Linked DNA regions of Homo sapiens: regions 1, 3, 4, 5, 6 and 7 are each linked to region 2. Evidence: promoter capture Hi-C in human tissues and cell types (Jung and others, 2019). All regions are on one chromosome and are shown on one strand. The core of a region is centred on a gene start or on the middle of the fragment in contact, and the rest is flanking DNA. Distances in the headings are between cores, read along the strand shown.

What was found. The method cuts DNA at HindIII sites, captures the fragments that hold promoters and counts their contacts. A contact is called where the count stands out against the background at its distance.
Region 1: a fragment that was not itself captured here is called in contact with the fragment with the promoter of PAIP2 in region 2 in 1 of the 25 tissues and cell types used here (bladder).
Region 3: a contact is called between a fragment that was not itself captured here and the fragment with the promoter of PAIP2 in region 2, in 1 of the 25 tissues and cell types used here (aorta).
Region 4: a contact is called between a fragment that was not itself captured here and the fragment with the promoter of PAIP2 in region 2, in 2 of the 25 tissues and cell types used here (IMR-90 fibroblasts and mesenchymal stem cells).
Region 5: a contact is called between a fragment that was not itself captured here and the fragment with the promoter of PAIP2 in region 2, in 1 of the 25 tissues and cell types used here (hippocampus).
Region 6: a fragment that was not itself captured here is called in contact with the fragment with the promoter of PAIP2 in region 2 in 1 of the 25 tissues and cell types used here (dorsolateral prefrontal cortex).
Region 7: a contact is called between a fragment that was not itself captured here and the fragment with the promoter of PAIP2 in region 2, in 2 of the 25 tissues and cell types used here (dorsolateral prefrontal cortex and hippocampus).

Annotation. Positions count from the first base shown.
Region 1 is chr5:138,778,907-138,781,606 of GRCh38, reverse strand. All of the region lies in intron 1 of CTNNA1 (catenin alpha 1), which reads right to left. Among named protein-coding and RNA genes, the nearest start is that of CTNNA1-AS1, 26 kb to the right of the region's middle. The HindIII fragment of the contact is 5,060 bases long and covers 1-2,700 here.
Region 2 is chr5:139,340,572-139,343,271 of GRCh38, reverse strand. PAIP2 (poly(A) binding protein interacting protein 2) reads right to left here and starts at 1,418. Exons shown (of 4, transcript NM_016480.5): 1 at 1,292-1,418. The HindIII fragment of the contact is 8,924 bases long and covers 1-2,700 here.
Region 3 is chr5:138,494,046-138,496,745 of GRCh38, reverse strand. No RefSeq gene overlaps it. Among named protein-coding and RNA genes, the nearest start is that of EGR1, 30 kb to the right of the region's middle. The HindIII fragment of the contact is 6,051 bases long and covers 1-2,700 here.
Region 4 is chr5:138,826,671-138,829,370 of GRCh38, reverse strand. It overlaps CTNNA1 (catenin alpha 1), which reads right to left. Exons shown (of 18, transcript NM_001903.5): 7 at 1,653-1,856. Among named protein-coding and RNA genes, the nearest start is that of LRRTM2, 47 kb to the left of the region's middle. RefSeq lists an enhancer at 372-872. The HindIII fragment of the contact is 9,361 bases long and covers 1-2,700 here.
Region 5 is chr5:138,388,866-138,391,565 of GRCh38, reverse strand. It overlaps KDM3B (lysine demethylase 3B), which reads right to left. Exons shown (of 24, transcript NM_016604.4): 8 at 1-553. Among named protein-coding and RNA genes, the nearest start is that of KDM3B, 38 kb to the right of the region's middle. The HindIII fragment of the contact is 4,652 bases long and covers 1-2,700 here.
Region 6 is chr5:138,648,626-138,651,325 of GRCh38, reverse strand. No RefSeq gene overlaps it. Among named protein-coding and RNA genes, the nearest start is that of HSPA9, 75 kb to the right of the region's middle. RefSeq lists an enhancer at 36-834. The HindIII fragment of the contact is 3,444 bases long and covers 1-2,700 here.
Region 7 is chr5:138,797,304-138,800,003 of GRCh38, reverse strand. The region is part of intron 3 of CTNNA1 (catenin alpha 1); the gene reads right to left. Among named protein-coding and RNA genes, the nearest start is that of CTNNA1-AS1, 45 kb to the right of the region's middle. The HindIII fragment of the contact is 5,540 bases long and covers 1-2,700 here.

The sequences.
Region 1 (2,700 bases), core at 161-2,660, 560 kb after region 2:
AAGATGAAAAGCTAAAGTGAATGAAAGCTACTTTCTTTTTTTTTTTTTTTTTGAGACAGAGTCTTGCTCTTTCGCCCAGGCTGGAGGGCAGTGGTGGATCTCAGCTCACTGCAAGCTCCGCCTCCTGGGTTCACGCCATTCTCTGGCCTCAGCCTCCCAAGTGGCTGTGACTACAGGGGCCCGCCACCACGCCCGGCTAATTTTTTTGCATTTTTAGTAGAGACGGGGTTTCACCGTGTTAGCCAGGATATGATGGTCTCGATCTCCTGACCTCATGATCCACCTGCCTCGGCCTCCCAAAGTGCTGGGATTATAGGCGTGAGCCACCGCACCCGGCCAAAAGCTACTTTCAAAGACACTGCTTCAAAAACGAATACAGAAGATCCTGATTTTTCCTACTCCACAACATTCATGGTACAGTAGTATCTAAAAGGTATGCTTCACTTCATTTTTTGATGGATTCCTAGAGAAGGACTTGTCTTATTCTATTAAAACATAATGTTTAAATCAGCTGCCCTCTGCACCCACAGCTATTATCACTCATAGCCAGAAGAAATTTCAAATCACACTTAGTCAAATATCACTGTATCAGTGTCAAGAGAAACTTCTGTCAGACAGCGGCTTTAAGAATAGGGAGAAAACATCAACGAAAATAACAGTTAGTCTTTTCTTCTAAAAGTAGTGCCTTCAATTATTAAAGAAAAAAAGAAAAGAAAAGGCATGAAGCTGAGGTAAACACTAATATAAACTTTCTAGACAACAAACTGCTGGTAGACATTTAAAAGCTTAAAGGCTGGGCGTGGTGGCTCACTCCTGTAATCCCAGCACTTTGGGAAGCCAAGGCGGGCAGATCACCTGAGGTCGGGAGTTCGACACCAGCCTGACCAACAAGGATAAACCCTGTCTCTACTAAAAATACAAAATTAGCCAGGCTGGTGGTGCACGCCTGTAATCCCAGCTACTCGGGAGGCTGAGGCAGAAGAATCGCTTGAACCCGGGAGGCAGAGGCTGCAGTGAGCCGAGATTGTGCCATTGCACTCCAGCCTGGGCAACAAGAAAAAAACTCCATCTTAAAAAATAATAATAATAATAAAAATTAAAAAAATAAAATCTTGGCCAGGCGCAGTGGCTCACGCCTGTAATCCCAGCACTTTGGGAGGCTGAGGCGGGCAGATCATGAGGTCAGGAGATTGAGACCATCCTGCCTAACACGGTGAAACCCAGTCTCTACTAAAAATACAAAAAAAAAATTAGCCAGGCGCAGTGGCGGGCACCTGTAGTCCCAGCTACTCGGGAGGCTGAGGCAGGAAAATGGCGTGAACCCCAGAGACGGAGCTTGCAGTAGCAGAGATAGCGCCACTGCAGTCCGGCCTGGGCGAAAGAGCAAGACTCCGTCTCAAAAAAATAAAAAATAAAATAAATAAATAAAATAAAATCTTTAAAAAGTACATTTGTATGACCCAGAAAATCTACTGCTAAAATCTTATTCTAAAGTTAAGGAACATGTAAAAACTGGGATACAATGATGTTCACAACACTGCTTTATATAAACATTAAAAGTTATAAATTACCTAAATTTCAAACAACAGATCACTCAATAAATTATGTAACAATGACACAACGGGCTACAATGTTACTCTTAAAAACAATGTTGGCAAATTAAAAAACAAAACAACCAGCCTGGCCAACATAGTGAAACCCCGTCTCTATTAAAACTACAAAAATTAGTCCAGTGTGGTGGTACACGCCCGTAATCCCAGCTGCTCAGGAGGCTGAGGCAGGAAAACCACTTGAACCTGGGAGGTGGAGGTTGCAGTGAGCCAAGATCGCACCACTGCACTCCAGCCTGGGCAACAGAGCAAGCTCTTGTCTCAAAAAAAAAACAAAAACAAAAAAAAACCAGTGTTATCAGTGCCCAAGTATTTATTTCTATTAAATACCATTTGCATGGTGGTTCATGCCTGTGATACCAGCACTTTGGAAGGCCAAGGCAGGAGGATCACTTAAGCCCAGGAGTTTGAGACCAGCCTGGGCCACACAGAGAGATCCCATTTCTACTTATTTTTTTTTTAAAAAACGGACCATTTCCCATTAATAGAAACCAAAGTTCCAGGTCTGAAGCACTGTATTGTGCGGAAAGGGGACAAGACTAACAAGATCATATCAAAAGACACAGGAAGCAAGGGCTCCCATCAGCCAAATTTAGGACAACTATCAAAGAGAATAATGACTGTAACTGTCTGTAACTAAATAATTAAATAAATATCCTTAAGACCATAGGGATCCTCAAAAGAAAGGGTATGGGGAGGGAATTTCTTTACCATGAATCTAGAATAGAATTAGAAAATGACCATCTTGCAACCCCCACTGGTAAAAACTGATCCAGCCAAGGATTAGCAATGAATGTCAAAACTACTGGGTGAAAACTGGCCAGGCATGGTGGTTCATGCTTGTAATTCCAGCACTTAGGGAGGCCAAAGTGGGTGGATCACCTGAGGTCAGGAGTTCGAGACCAGCCTGGCCAATGTGGTGAAACCCTCTCTCTACTAAAAATACAAAAATTAGCCAGGCGTAGTGGCGGTTGCTTGTGATCGCAGCTACTCATGAGGCTGAGCCAGGAGAATCGCTGGAACCTGGGAGGCAGAGGTTGCAATGAGCCGAGATCATGCCACTGCACTCCAGCCTAGGCAACAGAGCAAG
Region 2 (2,700 bases), core at 169-2,668:
GTGTGTGTGTGAAAAAGTTTTATTCAAGTTCACAACTGACAAGTAGTATAAACAGACTAATTTTCCCCAAATATCCTGTCTTTCACTAACTGGAAACAGAATCACAAAAGCAAATAGTGGAGTCTCATTAAAAATTATTGTAGAGAACTTTTACTTATTGCAAACACAACCTACGCCAGAAGAAATTTCAAAAGCGACTTAATGAAAATATAAACCAACACCTGATCTAACTGTGCTAATGAAATCTGTGAAAAAACAATGCCACCACGTTTCAACATTAGCCAGCACACCCAACATGAACATCTACTTTCCGTTGAAATAAACGTCAAAGGCTGTCAGCTGCTACACCTTCCAAGGCAAATTGGAAGCCAAATTCTTTCTAGAGTTTGGGGTTTTTATGAGTTGATACGGGTGCCAAATCAGGGAAAAAAGAAACAAAAGGAAGCAGGTAAGACCCCTTTTAGGAGTCCCTAAAAAATATCACTGCTGGCTGCTGCAACAAATGTTTTGAAGACCTAAGTTCACCACAAGCCTTATTTATTTCTGGTGGCGATGGTGGGGAAGGAGGAGAGTAAGCACAGAAAATTATTAAAAGGTAAGAGGACCTTAAAGTTCATCTAACTCAACGCCCTCCTAGGGTAAGGGTTCCCAGTACCCCAAAGGTTCTTTTTTCCAGGGCATGAGCTGCAATACAACCAAAAATAAGGGGTAGCGATGGCGAAGAAACGGGAGAAAGACGATCTTCTGATCAGGCCCGTCGACGGTTGCAGCGTTCCCCCAAGACGCCAAGAGCCCGCCAGTCCCTCCGCCCCTCTCTCCCCAAACCCCAGCCTCGGCTGAGGCGCGCACGCGCAGCAAGTAGGGGCTGCGCGTGGCGACGCGCAGGCGTAAAGTGGGTAGAAACAATAAGCTTTGTTGCCGAGGCGGTGGGAGGGGGGCAGGGGAAAGGGTACCCGGCGGAGGGATAAAGGACCGGGAGAATGAGGAACAGGAGAAAGTGCTATCCCGGCAACCCTCGCGCCACTGAGGACCCGGATAGAGAGCTGCGAGATCCAAATCATTAATAATGACAATGAAAAAAAAGCGACGGCCATGTCTCGGAGAAGACAGAGACGAAGTCGGCCCAAGCTCATCCCTCAGACTTGGTGGAAAGAGGCAATGAACAACGGAGGCCGCAATGGACTCGGTGGCCAACCACCCAGGGAACCCTTTAGGCCCCTCTGCCGTCGCCGACTTGCTGTCCCTCGACCTCCGCACCCCTGTCGCCACTCTGCCCGAGAGGACCCCTCACCCAATGCACAGCAGCGGGGACGGCAGCCAACGAATCCTGTCGGCCTCCGCGGATCTCCACAGGCAGCGCCGCTCCCCCGCTCGACGTGCGCTTCGCCCGCCGCCTCCCTTCTCCAGTCCAAACAAACACCCCAGCCCGGAAGTGACTTCACTTCCGTCGCCGCCAACCCCGCCCTCTTGTTCTGTCAGCTCTGCCCTCCGAAGCCACTAGAGAGCGCGCGCGAGAACGCGCGACCCCGAAGTCTGTCTCCAAGGCTGCACACGTGTGCACGCGCAGCAGCCTTTCCAGCGCGCCCCTACGGCCGGCTGCCGGGTGTAGCAGGAACGCTGTCGCACGTTCTCTCTGGAAGGCAGGAATGGGGGCGTACCACTGTTCCCACACCCGCCCATCTTCCGAGAATGATGATATGCAATGAGTGAGGCAGCTGGGGACTGAAGAGCACCCTGACAAGATACACAGGCGTGGACTTTCACAGACATCACACACCCCCCCAAAAACGTAATATTTAGGTAATGACATAGCACACACATACCCATACACACCCCAAGAATGATACACAATGTCACACAAACAGCGACATGCACCGAGTCACGTCAAGATCCTGACACAGAAAAATAATAAACTAAGGGAAATCACAGAGGCGTACTAAATGATATGCAAACATCCGCACTCAGACATGTGCAGGCACAAAAACACACTTTTTGAAGCTGGATGCAAACGCAAAATACAAATACATGTGCAACTTCTTTGTGGCTAAAGGAGGAAATGCCCTGTCCACACAGGATAGAAAAGTGTGACCTCCGGGTTCAAGAATTTTGTAGTCCGTGATCCTGGGTGCACTGGCCCCATAGTTATTCTTACCCATGCTTCCTTCCTGTCATCGTTGACAAGCCCCAAGATATATTTCTAGTGACACTAAGCAATGTAAAGAAGAGAGTATGTTTTTGTTTTTTTGTTTTGTTTTGTTTTTTTGAGGCGGAGTCTGGCTCTCTTGCCCAGGCTGGAGTGCAGTGGCGCCATCTCGGCTCACTGCAACCTCCGCCTCCCGGGTTCAAGAGATTCTCCTGCCACAGCCTCCCAAGTAGCTGGGACTACAGGCGCACGCCAGCACACCCGGCCAATTTTTGTACTTTTAGTAGAGATAGGGGTTTCACCGTGTTGGCCAGGATGGTCTCGATCTCCTGACCTCGTGATCCACCCGCCTCCGCCTCTCAAAGTGCTAGGATTACAGGTGTGAGCCACCGCACCCGGCCGAGAGTATGTGTTTTACAAATCTGGATGTTCAAATGTGTAGATACTATCTTTGAAAAAGGGACACAAACTAATTTCTTCCCTTTGGAGAGGGCAAATGACCGACTAGGAAATGGGTGCAAATAACTATCCTTTTCTCCTGAAAAATTTGAATCTTT
Region 3 (2,700 bases), core at 157-2,656, 850 kb after region 2:
TGAGGCAGGAGAATCTCTTGAACCTGGAGGTGGAAGTTGCAGTGAGCTGAGACCACACCTGCACTCCAGCCTGGGTGACAGAGCAAGACTGTCTCAAAATGAAATAAATGTGAGCTGGCCGGGTGCAGTGGCTCATGCCTGTAATCCAAGCACTTGGGGAGGCCGAGGCGGGCAGATCACAAGGTCAAGAGATCGAGACCATTCTGCCCAACATGGTGAAACCCCGTCTCTACTAAAAATACAAAAAATTAGCCAGGCGTGGTGGCAGGCACCTGTAGTCCCAGCTACTCCAGAGGCTGAGGCAGGAGAATGGCATGAACCCAGGAGGCGGAGCTTGCAGTGAGCCGAGATCGTGCCACTGCACTCCAGCCTGGGTGACAGAGCAAGACTCCATCTCAAAAAATAAATAAATAAATAAATAAAATGTTAGCTATATACACATTTAAGAAAGATTCATAAGAACAAGGATTGGCCAGGCGTGGTGGCTTATGCCTGTAATCCCAGCACTTTGGGAGGCCGAGGCGGGTGGATCACCTGAGGTCGGGAGTTCGAGACCAGCCTGGCCAACATGGAGAAACCCCGTCTCTACTAAAAATACAAAATTAGCTGGGCATGGTGGCGCATGCCTGTAATCCCAGCTATTCGGGAGGCTGAGGCAGGAGAATTGCTTGAACCTGGGAGGCGTAGGTTGTGGTGAGCCAAGATCACTCCATTGCACTCCAGCCTGGGCAACAAGAGCGAAACTGTCTCAAAAAAAAAAAACAAAACAAGGATTATTTACTCAATTTTTGGTGAATCAGGGATGTTGTGGTGGTGGGTTACATGAAGAAATAAATGTTTGCAAAACAAAAATTGCAAGGAGCACCTCCTACTGCTTCACCTGCCTGAGTTCAAAAACAATCACAAATATGGAAGGCTTGCTGAGCACTTTCATATGGCATTGTTTGTCATTGTGCACCATATGATTATTGGATATTTACAGATTTTTATTTGACAATAATTTGTATTCATTCATTCATTTTCCACCCCACTTCTTCCAGTTGCGGGTCTCAGGTGGCAGGAGCCCATCCCAGTAGCTTTCAGGGCACAAGGAAAACACCAACCCTAGACAAGATGCCATTCCACGGCAGGGCACACTCACAAACACACCCACACTCATTCATCCAGCGACCATTTAGACATGCTGATTCATCTAATGAGTACATCTTTGAGATGTGTAAGGAGACCAGAGTTCCCAGAGAAAGCCCATGCAGACACGGGGAGAACGTACCAACTCCACCCAAACAACTCCAGCTGAAAACTGATTTTTTTTCTCATCAATGTTATAAGGAAAGGACGTTGAACTGAATAAAATGACGTTTTTTGAGGACCTGTAGTCAACAAGGCAGACACAGTCCGTGTCAATAAAGAGCGCTCAATCTAGTGGCAAACCCAGCCAAAGAAAAAATGCCATGGGCCGGGTGCCGTGGCTCACGCCTGTAATCCCAGCACTTTGAGAGGCCGAGGTGGGAAGATCACCTGAGGTCAGGAGTTCTAGACCAGCCTGGCCAACATGGTGAAACCCCATCTCTACTAAAAAAAATTTAAAAATTAGCCGGGGGTGGTAGCGGACGCCTGTAATCCCAGCTACTTGGGAGGCTGAGGCAGGTGAATTGTTGAACCCAGGAGGCGGAGGTTGCAGTGAGCCAAGATGGCGCCACGGCACTCCAGCCTGGGCAACAAGAGCGAAACTCCATCTCAAAAAAAAAGAAAAAAGAAAAAAAAAAAGCCCTGGTTTGGTGGTTAAAAGCACAGAGGGTTTTGTGGGGCCGGGAGACAAAAGTGGCACCCAATCCACTGGCAAGAGAAGGTTTGGTTTCTTGTTTCTTTTTTAGACGGAGTCTTGCTCTGTCACCCAGGCTAATTTTTGTATTTTTTTTAGAGACAGGGTTTCACCGTGTTAGCCAGGATGGTCTCGATCTTCTGACCTTGTGATCCGCCCGCCTCGGCCTCCCAAAGTGCTGGGATTACAGGCGTGAGCCACCGCGCCCAGCTTGAGAAGGTTTGGTTTCTGTCTGGAAATCTCATTTTGTGGAGGAAGCAAGCACAGGAAAACAATGAGAAAAAAATGCAGGAAATAACAGGCGGCTGTGGTATTATTGGGTGTCACATTGGCAGTTGTTGAAAGATTATCAATCCCAGGCTCCAGTATTCCTAACAGGCCCGAAAGCCAGCCCCAGGACCACTAGAGCATAGGTCCTCTCTTAAGGCAGGGAATAGCCCAGGACCCTTACTGTTTCATAGGGCTTTCAAAGAATCAAGGCCCCCACACGGGCGCAGTGGCTCGCGCCTGTAATCCCAGCACTTTGGGAAGCCGAGGCGGGAGGATCGCAAGGTCAGGAGTTCAAGAGCAGCCTGGCCAATATGGTGAAACCCCTTCTCTACTAAAAATACAAAAAAATTAGCCGGACATGGTGGCGCATTCCTGTAATCCCAGCTACTCGGGAGGCTGAGGCAGGAGAATTGCTTGAAACCGGGAGGCGGAGGTTGCAGTGAGCCAAGATCAGACCACTGCACTCCAGCCTGGGTGACACAGTGAGACTCCGTCTCAAAAAAAAAAGAATCAAGGACCCTGCACACAGAAGAGAATAAAAGCCCTACCCAAGCAGAGGCCTGGGGTTCCTGCAAATTCTGTAGCAGCCTACAGGAGCTCCCCTCACA
Region 4 (2,700 bases), core at 102-2,601, 510 kb after region 2:
GATAGCAGATGACTGATCCACTTACCATGAGTTTTTGTTCCCCTGTTTAAGACTGCAACATTGTGAGCCATTCTGCAACATATCCATCTTTTAAAATATTTTCTAATGTTCAATCTTAGCTATGGATTTTTAAATGTGTCCCACATTTTCACTGTGACTTAAAAACCACTTTTTCCATTTGATTTAACAAAACCTCTAATCTCATTTTTCTTAAGTAGACTGCCTATAATCAAAACATGGCTTTTTTTTTTGAGACACTCTCGCTCTGTCGCCCAGGCTGGAGCACAGTGGCGCGACCATGGTTCACTGTAGCCACAACCTCCCAGGCTTAAGCGATTCTTCCGCCTCAGCCTCCCGAGTAGCTGAGACCAGGCGTGCGCCACCATGCCCAGTTAACTTTTGTATTTTTTGTAGAGATGGGATTTCACCATGTTGCCCAAGATGGTCTCAAACTCTTGGGCTCACGCAATCCACCCACCTCAGCCTCCCAAAACGCTGGGACTACAGGCTTGAACCATCATGCCCAGGGGGCAATGGCTTTAAAAAAATTCAATATGCATCACTAATTTCACAGTATGGTAGAGACAAGATAAACAGAGGAAGGCATTCATCTTCACCCTAGGAATTCCACCATGATTTACCATCACCCATTAACTTTTACAGGCCTGTAAGTGAACAGACAAGATGTATGGCAAACGAACAAATGAGAAAGAACCAAGATCTTTTTTTTAGGTGTTAAACAGGTAAAAAACGCTAGTGATGACAACTAATTTGTGTTGTTGTCCTTCTTCCCCTTAAAATGATTTCATATAATTTTTACTTAATTTATTGCTAATTAGCTACAGTAAAATATTGGGTCCAAGGTCTAAATGACAGGAACCCTAAGCTAGCATTAAATAACCAGAATAGAAGAAGTATAAGCGAAGGAAAAAAAGAAAGACATATGGCAACAGAGAAAAATCAACAAATATAGAATTTTCTATGGCCTTTTAAAAAAAAAGTGGGTATCAAATTTCATAGCCTGGGTTTTTATGCACAAACCTTCAAAATTCAAAAACACTATCCAGAGTTTGCTTTATGTAACTCTACTTGGCAATTATCTACTCTTGTGACATTCAATATGGTTCACGAAAAAACTTTCACAACTATAAATATTGAGGAGGCAGGTTTTCAACATTCCCTTTTGCCCAAAATTAGCCACCTACTTGGGATAATGAAACTTTAGTGGTATAGAAGGTCATTATTCTTTGGAGAGGCATGCTAAAATATTAGAGGTGAAGCATCACAATGTCTACAACTTTCTTCCAAAGGCTTCGGGGGAAAAAAGGATGTTTGTGTATATACCATACATACATATACATTTATATATACACACACCTACACATGTATCTACATGTTAATTGATGAATACAGATAAATTTCCTAGGTATTCACTGTATGATTTTTATAAGTTGAAAATTTCTCAATAAGCTGGAGAGAGGAAAGAGCCACTTAGCCATTTATCCATTTCTTTAAAAATCTGACCTACTCCCAAAAATCAAGGAGTCAAGGACATATTTGGTATTTATAGTGAAAACATCTCAGATCCAACATGTTATAGAAAACTCCTCATCCATAAATATCTTACTTCAAAGAAAAGCTGTCAAACTCACATTGCCCATGTACTCCGAAAGCAGGTCCTGCAGGGCCTGGCGGACAGCATTACACTCTGCCACAATTCGCTCACGACGGTCATCACGCGTGCAGGACGAGTCGGCCATCAAGGCAGCCCCACTAATGATGCTTTCCAGACGCTCCTCCAGGGAAGGCCTAAAGCGCTCCTCGCTGAAGCTCAAGGGGTCCACAATGATTTGTTTCTGCAGAGAAAGTATTACCGAATGTTAGTACTCATCTCTGTTCCCTTCTTTATTCAAGGTGAGAAAAGTGTTATTAGTAATATCAAGATTTAACACAAAAATTCCAACATCTGAAAGAAAGTTATACTTCTTAGCAGGTAAGGGGCTGTCCCACAGAAGATGGCCTACTGTTGATCACTCCTCAAAGAAAGCAGTGGAAGTAATGCTATGTAGCCAAACAAGGCATGATAAGGTATGATACCACAAATACAAACATATCATGCTCACACAACTTATTCTGAACATCTAAAGGTAAACCCGTATAAGACTAGCAATTCAAATCATCAGATGAGAATTACAAGGAAAATAAAAGTTACCTCTTACTTGCAGAATATAAAACTGCCATGTGATATTTAGAACTGTTGCACCACAAAAAAATTAAAAAATAAAAGCCAAACAAGCCAGGTGTGGTGGCTTATGCCTGTAATCTCAACACTTTGAGAGATTGAAGGAGGATTGTTTGAGGCCAGTTGAACACCAGCCTAGGCAACGAGGCAAGACCCTGTCTCTACAAAAAAATAAAATAAGTTGGGCATGGTGGCACACGCCTATAGTCCCAGCTACTCGGGAGGATCACTTGAACCCAGAAGTTCAAGGCTGCAGTGAGCTATGATTGTGCCACTGCACTCCAGCCTGGGTAACAGAGCAAGACTTTGTCTCTTAAAATATATACACGTGTGCGCACACATACAAACTGATCTCTAACCTTAAAGTTTCAGAAAGAAATGCATTTACAATGAATTTCCATCTATTTGCCTCATCTTACACATCTAATCAAGTTTTCTAAATAATTCAGTCTCAAATT
Region 5 (2,700 bases), core at 124-2,623, 950 kb after region 2:
CAACTTTCTCCACAAATGCCAGGAAAGGATTAGAAGGCTCTTCTCGGGACAATTTGGGGGGCTGTAAAAATAGATTTTCATGATTCTCTGGGGTACGGGCATTTAGGAGGCTCCGTGGGAAGGCTGGAGTGAGGGTGGGCATGGACTCTGCAGGCACTTTCCGGTCCACAGAGCTGCCAGCCTTAGAGCCTGGCTTAGTGTCTGTTCCAAGAACGGATCTGCCTTTACACAGGCCTGAGCTCAGGCTCTCAAGGCTTTGTTTGAATGAGTCCCGACTAGAAGAATCATCAGCCAAACTCTCTGAAACAGTAGTGAAGTAGTTACTGGTAGGTAAAGTTTGGGACATGCATTGAAAAAACAAGTTTTTGGAGAGATCAGTGTCTTTCTGTGCCTCTTGTGCAGAGCTACAGCCAAAAGAGAAGCCCAAAGGTTTGTTCTCTGTGGCTAGAACACCATTGGACTGGCTCCTTCCACTTCCAAAAGTCAAAGGTTGCGATGAACTAGGGAGAGGTGCTCCAAATCCAGAAGAGGCCAGAATAGAATTTCTTGAATTCTGAAAGGAAGATAGCCTGAATTAGTGATGCTGGCTTCTCATGACAATCTAATGATCTCTTTCTTGGACCTCACTATCACCAGATCAACATTTCTTGGGGGTCCATCAACTTTTCTCTTTTACAATTCCATGGATCTGCTCTTGTAACTGGAGTTCACCAGCAGTGGGGAAGAAATCTGCCACAGACTACACTGAGGGCATCTTTAGCAAGGTGAACCAGAGATAGCAGGATGTCATTCATCCTGCAATTCCCTTGGTTGTTATCCAATTGGTCGTCACAGTGCTAGAAGGCCTTGTAGGCTTTTTGGTATCTATTTGGAAGTGAAGAGCTCCTCTAAGGAACTGGAGAAAAGGGTTCCTGAATAGACATCAGCTTTTACAGTGACCCCTGTAATATTAATATATCTCAATGACCTTGGGAGCTATTGTTAAAGTTTTGATTTATTTAGGCTACTGTAAAATTGCCCATTTTACAAAAAGTGGCTTTAATCCTAGGACAAGCCTACTGCACGTTAAAGAAAAGTGTTTTCCTTATTAATCTGAAAGTCCACAACATGGACCCTTTTGGATTTCGGCATCTATTTATGGGTTCAAGTCAACCTACAAGTTGAATATCTACTTCAATTAACGTTAGACGTAAAGATGCTAAATTAAAGAAAGCAAGCTATTTACCAAGACCTTTGTTATAATTAGAATCTAATAAGAATCCAAAGAGGATAAATGTATATACTGACAATATCCCAAAAAAAGCCTTCAGCATAACTGAAGAATGAAATAACAGAACACTCCCCTTTCCTTCTTTTACCTTCAAAATGTTAACTTCTGCTTGTGAATGACTGTATAAAGAAGAATGGGGCCTGGCGCGGTGGCTCATGCCTGTAATCCCAGTACTTTGGGAGGCTGACATGGGCGGATCACGAGGTCTGGAGGTCAAGACCATCCTGGCCAACACGGTGAAACCCTGTCTCTACTAAAAATACAAAAAATGAGCCGGGCATGGTGGCACGTGCCTGTAGTCCCAGCTACTCGGAAGGCTGAGGCAGGAGAATTGCTTGAACCCAGGAGGCGGAGGTTGCAGTGAGCCCAGATCGTGCCACTGCACTCCAGCCTGGCAACAGAGCAAGATTCCCTCACAAAAACAAAAAAAAGGAAGGACTTTCCTATATATTAATGTACCCAGATACAGACAAGAGAAAGGGACACACACACACACACACACACACACACACAGAGAGAGAGAGAGAGAGAGAAGAGACCCATAGGTAGGTATGAGCCCAAACTTATATTTATTAATTTAATAAAACCCAGATCCTAGTACTTGACTTGCTAACCATAGATTACTTTCAAGTAGTAGAGGATGATATACCTTAATATTCACTCTAAAACACTGGAAATAAAAATTATTCCATCACCACTTAATGGATATGGAGTTTTCCTTTTGGGGTGATGAAATTTCTGGATCTAGATAGTCTTCATAGTTTCGCAACACTGTAAATGTACTAAATGCCACAGAATTGTACATTTTAAAGTCGTAAGTTTTACATTATGTGTATTTTACTACAATTAAAAAAAAAGTGATTCCCGATAAACAAAAGGGCTATTCTCTTATAAAGAGGGGAGAGAGTTTTAATTAAACTATTCTTTAAATACACAAGAGGAGTTAACATTCAGGATTTCCTTGAGGAGTAGCATAGAGACGTACGAATCAAGCAGGCCACCTAGGCTTGCCTCTGTCTCTGCTACAGAGACTACTTCAGGGTATTTTAGAGTTAAAAAATAAAACTCCTTTTCTTTTTTCTTTTATCTTCCTACTAACCAGTAAGTATTGACTTCAACTTACTCCCTACAATAGAGAAAAAGAACAGACACAGCCCTGAGGTGCTGCTGTTGCTTCACAGGCAGGATTTGGCCAGGAGCCTTGATACCTGCATGACTGCAAGGAACTAGCATGGGTAGCTCATGTTTCACTCCTAAAGTTACCCTTTAAAAATAAATACACACATGAATGAAAAATAATTTGGATAGTCTTTCATTTTCCTTCAAATGATTAAATTCCAAATCCTTTTCTTATAAAAAGGTGATGAGAAACTCATGTCAAGCCAGTTTTTAGGGCAAGAAGTTTCCTGTTGGCTCTGTCTTTATTTTAG
Region 6 (2,700 bases), core at 20-2,519, 690 kb after region 2:
CCACCTTCCTCCCGCTCCCTCCTGCCTGCCTTCAGACTATAAATCAGTTTTCAATCCTGAATGCTACCTGTAAATGTTCGAGCTCAGGATCCTCGCCTCATATTCCTATGTCCCTGGGGGGTGGTTCAGGATGTGAGTGGCTTCCCCCAGTCCTGATTCTGACATCCCAGCCCCTGATTGATGGTGAGAGGAGCAGCAGGGAAGCTGGAAATGGCTCTAGGGTCTCTGGAGCCCTGGCCTGGGGAGAGGGGTGGGCAGCTCTGGATCTGCCTGACTCAGCCAAGCCTGAACTGGATGCTCCCCAGTGTACAGAACTGTGGACATGCTCCGGACCAATTGGTGGGAAGGCATTGAAACTGACCCCTCCCCGAAAATGGCAACTTCTTTCCAGCCTTGTCAGATGTGCCAGAGCAGGCAGGTGGGCACGTTCACTGGAGTGTCCAAAAGACGGCAGCCTCGCCATAGGCTGATCTGGGGATGAAGAGGCACAGCCATGCCTTTCCCCTGAGCTGGGATGGGAAATCCCATGATGCACCTTTGAGGTGATAAAAGGACAAATCAAGAAAGAAATTCTTGGCCAGGCATTGTGGCTCATGCCTGTAATCCCAGCACTTTGGGAGACCGAGGCAGGCGGATCACCTGGTGAAACCCTGTCTCTACTAAAAATACAAAAATTATCGAGGCATGGTGCCATATGCCTGTAATCCCAGCTACTTGGGAGGCTGAGGCAGGAGAATCTCCTAAAACCCAGAGGAGGAGGTTGCAGTGAGCCGAGATTGTGCCACTGCATTCCAGCCTGAGTGACAGATCAAAACTCTGTCTCAAAAAAAAAAAAAAAAACCACACACACACACACACACACACAGAAAGAAAGAAATTTTTCTTTCTTCCTTTTTTTTTTTTTCTTTTTTAGGAGACAGAGTTGCCCCGGCTGGAGTGCAGTCGTGCGAAGCTGGCTCCCTGAAGCCTCAACTGCAGGTGTGTTATGTGTCCACCATTTACTGATCACCCCATCTGAAGACGGTCCCCCGGCCCTGACCTATTACTTTCTATCTTAGCGCCCTGTTTGTTATGGTACTAGGTATAATTCATATTATTCCATATTGTCTTGTGTCTTCATTTTTTGTGGGTTTTCACTCCTGGAGTGGAAGCTCTGTGAAGGCAGGGGCCACATTGCCTGGTCAACACTGTATTCCAGTTACTTAGCATCAAGCTTCACACATCATGGTGTTAGTTAAATACTCTTTGAATGAACTGAATGCATGGAGCCGGGGTGGGGTGGCTGCCAAAGAGAAGGTCTTCAAAGCTGAGGCTGACTCTGCCTGCTCCCCTGTGGCAGCCCCATCTGCAGACAGCAGCTGGGCAGATTCCTCCTTCCCTAGGAGACCAGGCTTATGACCCCGGGGGAATTGAGAGGCCTCTCCAGACCTTGGCCTCCTTCCTCTCCCTTGGGAAAACTCCAGTTGTGACCCCTCCTAGCTGTCCCCGGAGCTGCCTTCTGAGGACCAGGGGTTAATGGTCAGTGTTTATCACCTCCCACTCCCTGACAAGATCCCCAGGTCACTGGAAAGCTTGGCCCAGCCCAAACTGATACCTTGCATGGGCCAGGGACTCAATCTGGGGACAGCAAAGAGGGACTGAGGAGGAAGCTCCTCCACGCATTATAATATCCATGAAGTGAATGCAAATGAACTGAAAGCACCTTTTGAATAAGCAGCTTTTACTGAGGGAGCTGCTCTAATCCCTAAATGGCTTTGCTGACAGGGAGGAGCTTCCCAGTGGTGGAAGGGGTGGGAAATGGGGACACACTGTCAGGAACCGGCTCTGCAGCGCCCTTGTCCCTGCACTTTTAGATTCCGGACACGCTTCTTGTGGCTAATGGAACTCGGAGATCTCTAACCTTGGCCTCCATATTCCACTCCCTGCCCCCGCCCCCAGAGTCTGCGGAGCCCAGCTTCTGTGTTTCCAGGAGGCTGAGGCTGCTGGGTGCTGGGTCTCAGTGTCGAGTGATTCTCTGGGACTGGAAGCAGCTGAGTGTGCCTCCAGTGATGTAGCCCTGTGGGCTCTCTGGTGACCATGTGAGACATCCCTGGGCCTGTGTGTAAAGGTGTGTGGCCGTGTGCACCAGTGGGTTTGTGTCCATTTACACACCTCCTGGAAACAAGTGTCATTGTGTTTGTGCCTCTGTCTGTCCCCACCCCCACATCTCCATCCATCTGTATTCCTCCCCAGGTTAGCGGGGGCTGGCCTCAGCTGGGGAATCATGCTTTTTCAAGGACTAATGACTTTTATCAGAATGATAATGAACTGATGACACAGGGAGGCCCTGGGCTCTGGAGAGAAGCCAGAGAAGGAGCAGTTGGGGACAGAGAGGAGGCTGGTAGGGTTGGGAGGCTAGAGGACTATGCCTCCCAGAAAGGCCAGCCAGCTCCATTCCTCTTTCAGTGGGGGAAGGAGACAGGGACAGAGGAAACCCAGGGGATGTTGGAAACACATTCTCCATTTCCCTTCCCTGTCCCGCCTGCCTCTTCCTGAACCTTCCATTCCCTGCTTTGCTATTCTTCTCGCCCTCCCAGAGGACTCCCCTTGACTACGGGGCTGTGAGGCTAAAGCTGGCTATTCCCCTCTCCCAGTCTCCTTCACTCTAGCCCTTACTCAAAGCCAGGTCCTGCCCAGAGATGGAGAGGGGAGCTGCTCCTA
Region 7 (2,700 bases), core at 58-2,557, 540 kb after region 2:
AATCGATTGAACCCAGGAGGCAGAGGTTGCAGTGAGCCGAGATGGCACCACTGCACTCCAGACTGGGCGACAGAGCAAGACTCTGTCTCTAAATACACACATACACACACACATACATACATACATACATACATACATACATACATCTACATCTACTCTAATTTATTTTAGCTCACAGCCCTAATGACAAATCCTTAATTTCATGGCTAACATAAAGTATTAGTAATGAAAAAATACATCAGAAACACACTGTATAATGGGTTAAAATATTCACACTTTCTCCATCAGCAAAACTATAAACAAGTATATAAATAAGCCCCCAGCTAAAAATGAGGTCCTCAAACTTCTGAATGGTCATCCTTACAAAAAAAAAAAAAATGACACTAAGACTAACTTGAGATGTTTAATAAGTTTCATTTCAAAATTAAATGTAAAAAGAACCCATGCTCAAAACCTTGCTTAAAAAAATTGTAAAAAGGAATCAACAACTTTTTTTTCCTCCATCTCTCATGTCTCTTAAAAGAACTCTAAAAATAAAAAAAGATGGCCAGGTATGGTGGTCACGCCTGTAATCCCAGCACTTTGGAAGGCCGAGGTGGGTGGATCACCTGAAGTCAGGAGTTCGAGACCAGTCTGACCAACATGGCAAAACCCCATCTCTACTAAAAGTACAAAATTAGCCAGGCGTGGTGGCACATGCCTGTAATCCCACCTACTCAGGAGGCAGAGGCAGGAGAATTGCCTGAACCCGGAAGGCAGAGGTTGCAGTGAACCGAGGTCACGCCATTGCACTCCAGCCTGGGCAACAAGAGCGAAACTCTGTCTAAAAAAACAAAATGTGGCAGAAGGCTGGGCACGATGGCTCAGCACTTTGGGAGGCTGAGGGTAGGGGATTACTTGAGATCAGAGGTTCAAGACCAGAACTACTAAAAAATAATAATACAAAAATTAGCCAGGCACAGTGGCCTGGGTGACAGAGTAAGACTCCATCTCAAAAAAAATTTTTTTTAATAAAAAAAATTAAAAATTTAAAAAGATACCTGTTAGTTTAAATTTATAAGATATCAAAAGTGCTCTCTGCACACAAAAGGGCAAACTGGGGAAACTGAGGTAGACAGGAACTATATCCAAGATCGCACGGTTGTAAAACCTGACTTTGTCCCAGCTGTTTCCAGTCAACTACACTACATCTACTAACAAAGGAGATGAAACTTAAGAGAGCTCAATACTACTGTACCATCTGCCATGAAATAAAATCTGTCATCCCCTGATGTTCTCTCCTGAGCTGGGAATAAAATAAGTTCCTCTGGAGTTTAAAACAAAGACAATGGGCAATTATAAAGTAAACAAACAAACAAAAAAACCCACAATTCTTTATTAGGAGAAGACAAAATCAAGAAGTTTTTGAAGCATCAAATATCATGAGTAAATTCCCCTGAAAGCAACCAAACTTTATAAAGTTACGGGGAAAGGATAGGCTTGGAAAATATTTGGGTGATGGATAAAAAAAACAAAAGGCTTGTTTGTTTTAACCTGAACCTGTTACATTGCTCCTTTAAAACAAAGAATGCTATGAAGTAATGTTAATGAATATAACTACTTCTCTCCCAGAACACTACTTGGTGTAGATGAAATAAGGTATTGGAACTGGGTCTAAATCCAGCTTCGATATTTGGCAGCTGTGTTACTTTGGGTTGTTTTATCTCTAGCTGTTTTCTTTTCTGTAAAATGAGTACACATCTCCCATACCTTACTCAGTTGTTTTGAAAATTAAATGAAATAATATATGCAAAGCTCAACAAATACTTCTGTGCCCCCTTCTATTTTTCCATCTACTTTTTCCAGTTTTTAAACCTATTTAGAACATGTCATTATCCACACACCAGCTGTTTCTTACCTTTTTAGAAATAAAGTCATGATACCAAGTTTCCTAAAGGACAGAGGAAATGTTAGCTTTTAATTTTAAATGCTGAAGCTGTAAAGGATGAGGGGAGCTTCCTTCACTCCACTGTCTATAGTGCAGAAAGTAGTAATAATTGTTCCTTTTGTGCTAATAGCTACAACCAAAGCTTGCTGTGCCTTACGTTTTTCCAACTGCTTTTTTTAAATTTTTTTTTTAGCAGTTTTTTTGTTTTGTTTTGTTTCATTTTGTTTTAAAGAAGTTCTCAAGTCAAGCTGGGATTCCTTCCAGTTCTCAGGAACTGGTCATCTTCCTCATCTATCCCATTTACAGTGTCACATCCCAAAATTCTACAGTATACTACAAAAGAAAGGTTCCCAACCACAACGTAATGGCTCAGAAATCCAGCTATGGAAACATCTCTACTGCCTGTAAAAGTCCTCCAAAAACCTCAATAAATAGGGCAAAGTTATATCTCCTTCCCCAAAATAATACTAAGGATACTTTTAAATAGCTTCTTCACCAGAACCTTTCTACCTTTAAGGTCCAGAAAAAATATTTTTGCCAGCCCAGTAGAGAAACACAGCTTATCTTCGATAAATTATACAATCTGCCCCCACCCAGGTATCTTCATTAATGGAAATGATTTTCATTTCCACTTTAAATAGCAGATATATAACAATCTGTACTGCACAGTGAGAATGGAGATCACAATGTGTTTATGTCCTGGGAAAGGGATGGGATGGTAAACACTACAACCAACACATACCAAAATATCGACAGAGCTTAATCATAAGGTG